Regions from separate parts of the Homo sapiens genome. Here region 1 is linked to region 2. Evidence: promoter capture Hi-C in 16 types of primary human blood cells and fetal thymus (Javierre and others, 2016). All regions are on one chromosome and are shown on one strand. The core of a region is centred on a gene start or on the middle of the fragment in contact, and the rest is flanking DNA. Distances in the headings are between cores, read along the strand shown.

Evidence for each region. The method cuts DNA at HindIII sites, captures the fragments that hold promoters and counts their contacts. A CHiCAGO score of 5 or more calls a contact.
Region 1: a contact is called between a fragment that was not itself captured here and the fragment with the promoter of PER3 in region 2, in 1 of 17 cell types (megakaryocytes). The highest score is 5.2, in megakaryocytes.

The regions. Positions count from the first base shown.
Region 1 is chr1:7,904,451-7,907,874 of GRCh38, forward strand. It overlaps a transcript of UTS2 not described here. Among named protein-coding and RNA genes, the nearest start is that of TNFRSF9, 35 kb to the right of the region's middle. The HindIII fragment of the contact is 4,813 bases long and covers 1-3,424 here.
Region 2 is chr1:7,782,711-7,786,114 of GRCh38, forward strand. PER3 (period circadian regulator 3) reads left to right here and starts at 1,581. Exons shown (of 22, transcript NM_001377275.1): 1 at 1,581-1,666; 2 at 1,944-2,295; 3 at 2,731-2,876. The coding sequence starts at 2,168. RefSeq lists a silencer at 1,047-1,656. The HindIII fragment of the contact is 8,097 bases long and covers 1-3,404 here.

The DNA of each region.
Region 1 (3,424 bases), core at 454-2,953, 120 kb after region 2:
TGGGTGACAGAGCAAGACTCCATCTCGTAAAAAAAAAAACAACAAAAAAAGTAAAGACGTGTAGTCAATTTGTTTTTACTTTGATTTTAGAATATATTCTGATTATTGCTGTTTATTACTTAAATAGTTACGTGTTATGCAATATTTATGTGTTATTAAGACATGGAAAAGGGGCTGGGAGCAGTGGCTCACGCCTATAATCCCAGCACTTTGGGAGGATGAGGCAGGCAGATCACCTGAGGTCATGAGTTCAAGACCAGCCTGGCCAACATGGTGAAACCCTGTCTCTACTAAAAATATAAAAATTAGCCGGGCGTGGTGGTGGCGCCTGTAAACCCAGCTAATTGGAAGACTGAGGCAGGAGAATCGCTTGAACCCGGGAGGCAGAGGTTAGAGTAAGCCTAGATCGTGCCACTGGACTCCAGCTTGGGTGACAGAGTGAGACTCTGTCTCAAAAAAAAAAAAAAAAAAAAAAGCCCACATAGAAAGGGGACTTAAAGGATAATTTAGTGAATACATGCATATCCACTGCCCAGCTTAGAAAATAAACATTGCCAACACAGCTAAATACCTCTGCGATGGTTAATTTCACCTGTCACCTTGGCTAGGCTATAGTACACAGTTTTTGGTCAAACATCAATCCAGATGTTGCTGTGAGGGTATCTTTTTTTTATGTGTGATTAACATTTCTTTTTTCTTTTTTTTTTTTTTGAGACAGAGTTCGCTCTTGTTGCCCAGGCTGGAGTGTAATGGCGCGATCTTGGCTCACTGTACCCTCCACCTCCCAGGTTCAAGCAATTCTCCTGCCTCAGCCTCCTGCGAGTAGCTGGGATTACAGGCATATGTCACCACGCCCGTCTAATTTTGTATTTTTAGTAGACACGGGGTTTCTCCATGTTGGTCAGGCTGGTCTTGAACTCCCGACCTCAGGTGATGCCCCTGCCTCGGCCTCCCAAAGTGCTGGGATTATAGGCGTGACGCCGTGCCAGGCCGTAATTAACATGTATTAGGTTGGTGCAAAAGTAATTGCGGTTTTTGCCATTAAAACTGTGGCAAAAACTGCAATTACTTTTGCACCGGCCTAATAAATCAGTAAACTTTGAATAAAGCAGATGGCCCTCCACAGTGCAGGTAGGCCTCTTCCAATATGTTGAAGGCCTCAAGAGAAAAAGACTGCAGTGTTCCAAGGAAGAGGGGAATTCTGCTTCTAGATGGCCTCCAGGCTTAATACTGCAACATCAGCTCTTCCCTGGATGAAATGAACATCTTTCTTCAGTATTTAAGGACAAGTTGTATTTCTTCCTTGGTGAATTGTTTCTTATTTTCTGGTGGTTTCAAGGTCAGCAGGAATGTAGGGTTTGTTGAGGTTGGGCTGACGGTTTCCTAGGGAAAGGTGGGTGATTGGTTTTACATTTAGCTCTCTTCTTGGACATTTCGTAGTGATGAAGTGGGGCAGTGTCTTGCCGGGTGAGGGGTGTCTGGGGGGCTTGTCTTGCTGGGCACACGGGGGCCTGAAGGGCTCCTTCACAGCCAGTGGGTGGGTGGGGGTCGGGAACACACGGAATTCTTTCCAGGTGAGCATCTTGTTTTGAGGAACCAACTGCTGCTGTAATATAATGTTGCCTTTCAGTCTTGAGGCTTTCACTTGGCCAGCAAGTACTTCTTTCAACACCCATAGAATTGCATGAGGTGCATGGGGTTCTTAATAGGGGCAGCTCCTGTTTTCATAAAATTTGTGAAGAAGCATTTCATGATAAGTGGAGTAAATTATACTAAATATTGAAATGGGAATCAATTTTTCTAAACATTCCTTTCCATGTTCCTGCAAAGATGCTGGTTTCACTTGCATTTGAATCAAGGCACACACCTTTCCTTCGTCCATACAGCCAGAGCCTCTGCCACAGGAACTGGTGAACGTCTTAACTGTTTATCTCACTTTATAGCACAGCAAGAAAGAAAGAAAGAAAAGAAAGAAAGGAAGAAAGAAAGAAAGAAAAAGAGAAAGAAAGAAAGAAAGAAAGAAAGAAAGAAAGAAAGAAAGAAAGAAAGAAAGAAAGAAAAGAGGGAGGGAGGGAGGGGAAACTTCTAAGATCATTCCAGATTTTTTTTCTTGACTTTACTCCCTACTACCCCCTTGAAATTCATACTTGCACACAGAAACTCTTCAAACTTCCTGTCTTGAGTACAGGCTGGACAGAAAACTATAGAGAGATATCAGCACCATGAATGCCAATATCAACACCAGTACTAACCCAACACCAACAGTGAGAACACCAATATGGATGCCGGTACCAACCCAACAGCAACACCACGAACACGGGCAGTAGGAGGAAGGTCCAGGATGCGAATTCAAAATATTGAACACCAGTTAACTTAGCCAAAGAGTCTCTAGTGAAGCTGTGATCAAGGAGAGTATGTGCCTGGTATCTATAAACATCCCATCATTGCAATCAGAGAGACACATACGATCATTATTAGCCTTTGCCACTGAAGCTAAAATAATTATTGAAAGAGTATGGGCTGCACGCAGTGGCTCACGCCTGTAATCCCAGCACTTTGGGAGACCAAGGGGGGAGGATCACCTGAGGTTGGGAGTTTGAGGTTGGGAGCCTGGGCAACATAGTAAGACCCCATCTCTACCAAAAATACAAAAAAATTAGCCAGGTGTGGTGGTGCGCGCTTGTAATCCCCGCTACTTCAGAGGCTGAGGCGAGAGAATTGCTTGAACCTGGGAGGTGGAGACTGCAATGAGCTGAGATCGTGTCACTGCACTCCAGCCTGGGTGACGAGAGACTGTCTCAAAACAAAAACAAAAAATTGTGAGTGGTTGATCTTATAAACTAGTAGATTTAAAAAGTGAAAGAGTGTGAGTGGAAGCAGTCTGACTGTCCTTAGGTGTCAAGAAATCAGGTTATGCCAGGTACAATGACTCAGGCCTGCAATCCCAGCACTTTGGGAGGCTGAGGCGGGAGGATTTCTGAACACAAGGAGTTTGAGAGCAGCAGGGCATCATAGCAAGACTTCATCTTTACAAAAAAATTTAAACATTTTTTTAAATTTAAAAAAATTTAAAAATTAGAAGTCGTAGCTACTCAGGAGGCTGAAGTAGGAACCCAGGAGTTCAAGGCTGCAGTGAGCTATGATCACACCACTGCACTCCAGCCTAAGCAACAGAGCCAGACCATGTCTCTAAAAAAAAAAAAAAAATTAGCGACCACAACAAAATGTAAATAACTAACTGACAGTGAGCTTCTGAGCATTATGTCAGAGATTTTTTGTTTTTTAGACTCCCTTAGGCCCCTATTTCAACAACTCCAAACTCAGAGTAGGAGGAAAAGAAATACACAATTATCATTCCTTCCGGAATACTAAGTTTTCGAAGCCTCAACTTCACAGGTAGTTGTTTACCTTTTAAGATTATGGC
Region 2 (3,404 bases), core at 331-2,830:
AAGGTGGTTTATTCAATACCTAACATGAACACTCACCTCACTTTTCCCCTCTTCCTTTACATACAATTTCATCCATCCAACAAATACTGAATATTTTTTCTGTACCAGGCAGCGAAGAGGGGCGGCACTCTGCACTGTACCTTTCATTTCTAACATGTTGAGATACTAAACTGAGCTTTCAGACATTTTTTTTAAAGGGCTCTACAACTTCTTTTCTGAAACAGAGTGTCTTTTACGTTTGTCTTCCTCCAGTTGCCAAATGAATCTAATTTTAGGAAGTGCAGGGAAGTGTTTTAAGTTCCACCGTCAAAATTCTGTTTCTGGGCCGGTGCAGTGGCTCACGCCAGTAATCCCAACATTTTGGGAGACCGAGGCCAGCAGATCACTGGGGCTTAGGAGTTTGAGAACAGCCTGGCTAACACAGACCATCTTTACCAAAAACACAAAAATTAGCCAGGTGTGGTGGCTGCACCTGTAGTTCCAGCTACTCGGGAGGCTGAAGCAGGAAACTGGCTTGAGCCCAGAAGACGGAGGTTGCAGTGAGCCAAAATCGCGCCACTGCACTCCATCCAGCCTGGACAACAGAGCAAAACCCTGTCTCAAAAAATAAAAAATCTGTTTCTAAAAATCGGGTGGGCTTTTTACCAGGGCTGCTTTATGGCCCGGTTCCTCCAAGTCCACCCCACTCACCGAAAGAGTTAGCGGAGGATGGGGGCGGTTGGGGTGGGCTCGGTAGGTCACGGGCGGTGAAAACCGTGGGAACCCAGAAAGACGGCCAAAGCACGATGAGGACCGCTGCCGGCAGCCCGCCCCACCCTGGGCTCCTCCCCACACCCGCTCGGGCAGCCGGGAGCCACCTACAAACTCCAGGACTCGACCCCAGAGCGCTGGCCTGAGCCGCCCCTGCTCGCCCCCAGTCCCCGCCTCTCCCTCCCTCTAATGCCCCCGCCCTCGACACCGTCGCCCCCCCGCCCCTGCCTCTCGCTCCCCACGTCTCTCGGCACCCCCGCTCCCATCCGCCCCCCCGTCCCCGCCTCTCGCCCCCATCCGTCCCCATTTCCAGCCTCCCCCTGACCCCGACTCAAGCCCCCCGACTCCGCCTCTCGCCCCTCTCTGCCCCCGCCTCTCACTCCCCTCTCCTTCCCCGCCCGCCTCTCACGTGGAGGTTGGGCCGGACCCGCCCCGCCCCACAGAGCCCGGGTCCCGCCCCCACGTGGCTGGCAGCTTCCTGGCCCTATCATTTCTGCGCTGGCTTCAGCGGCTCCGCCCCGGCGCCGTGCCAGGGGGCCGGACACTCCAGTCGCGCGGCACAGGCCTGAGGCCGCTGAGGGCCACCCCGTCCCCTGCCCGCCCGCCGGCCTGCTGGGATTGGCCGAGCGCCGGCCTCCGCCCGAGCCCGCGCGTTATGTAACGCGCCCCGGGGGCCCCGCCCCCTCGCCCTGGCTTATATAACCCGGGCGCACCGGCTCGCGCCCCGCCCCAGGGCCAATGGAGGCCTGCGGAGTCGGCCCCGACGACCAATCGCACGGCCCGGGGGCGGGACCGGTCACGCGGCGGCAGGGGGCGCGGCGCCGGCTGCTGACCGGCACGCGGCGAGCCTCGAGACTGCGCGAGGGCGGCCCCGGGGGCGAGCGGCTGTGCGCGGGGCCAAGGGCGGGGGCAGCAGGTGAGTGCGCGGCCGGGCGGGAGTTCTGGGCGGCCGGGCGGGAGTTCTGGGCACTCGCGCGCGGCAGAGGAGCCCCGCGAGCCCTGCCCTCGGTACTGGGGGCCCCCGGAGCGTGGCGCTTCCGAGCCACCCGCCTCCCCGGGCCCCATCCCTCGGCGCGCGGGAAAGTTGGGGCAGGGGTGAGGACCGCGCGGTCGGGGCGCCCCAGCCAGCCGGGCCGCTGGCGTCGGACTGTCTGTTCCATTTGTCCCTTGTCACCCTTGTCTCCTCCCCCTAGGCCGGAGTCCTGAAAGTCGAGCGAGCTCCGGGTTTTGAAAATGTTGGAGGGAAAAGCTCCTCGGAGATGAGCGTGACCCCCTGGCTCGTGGTGGCCGCCTGTTCTCACTAACGCCATGGCGGGGACCGGAGTGAGAAACCGGTGTCTGTCACTGACTGCAAAGTGAGCGAGAAGCAGGCTGCGGGCCGTCCCAGCACGACGTGGAGCCCCGCGGAGACCTCGAGATGCCCCGCGGGGAAGCTCCTGGCCCCGGGAGACGGGGGGCTAAGGACGAGGCCCTGGGCGAAGAATCGGGGGAGCGGTGGAGCCCCGAGTTCCATCTGCAGAGGAAATTGGCGGACAGCAGCCACAGGTGACGCGCTGGCTTCAGGCCGAGGGCCCCATGCGTTCGTTGTCCTTCCCTGGAGCAGGGAAAGGGGGACCTAAATCTTTTTATTCTTTTGTTTTCAAGCCCAGGGGAAAGTGTAAAGGGGAGACTCGGGCAATGTAGGATGAAGTGATCCGTGACACTGAAGAAAATTACCGAAGAGTATCAGGAGGGAAAAGTGGTTACAAAAGTTAGCTGAGTTGGGGCTCAAGTGGATTAAGGGAAAGTAAGTGGAGAATGTTTGTCATTCACCAGTTGCTTTGCCTCGAGTTCCCCACCTAGAGGAAGAGGGGTCACCACCCTGTGGACTGATGCCGGTAGAGCACTTAGAAACTTACCTGGCTTGCAGTTTGTGTTCCCTAAGCCGCAAGATGCTGTTGTCTTCAGAGGATGAAGTTGTAATTTTTTTTTATCTTCCAGTGAACAGCAAGATCGAAACAGAGTTTCTGAAGAACTTATCATGGTTGTCCAAGAAATGAAAAAATACTTCCCCTCGGAGAGACGCAATAAACCAAGCACTCTAGATGCCCTCAACTATGCTCTCCGCTGTGTCCACAGCGTTCAAGGTAAACAAGCCGGAGAGAAATTTCATCCTACGAATGCACCAGGACTCATACAAGCAGCCAGAGGAGTGGTCAGTGGGGTCTCAGTCAGACAAATAATTTGAGCTTTTTCTGGTGCTTTGTGGAAGATGAGCAAATCTACACCGATTCCATTCGTGTCTTAATTGTTCACATGTGAAAGACCAGGAAAACTTTATCTGTATAATAGTGTATAATACCTATGCAATGTTTTGCTCATGTGTTGCAAGAGAGTAGAGTTTAGCATAAGCACATTTTGAAGGCTGACCTTTTAAAGAAATATTGTCTTCTATGGAAGTTATGGGAAAAAAATGCATTCCACGAAATAGTTACCTTTACATGCCGTACACATACTTTCAAAATGCAGTAATGAGGCTGGGCGCGGTGCCTCACGCCTGTAATCCCAGCACTTTGGGAGGCCGAGGCGGGCAGATCACGAGGTCAGGAGATCGAGACCATCCTGGCTAATACGGTGAAACCCCGTCTCTACTAAAAATACAAAAAATTAGCCGG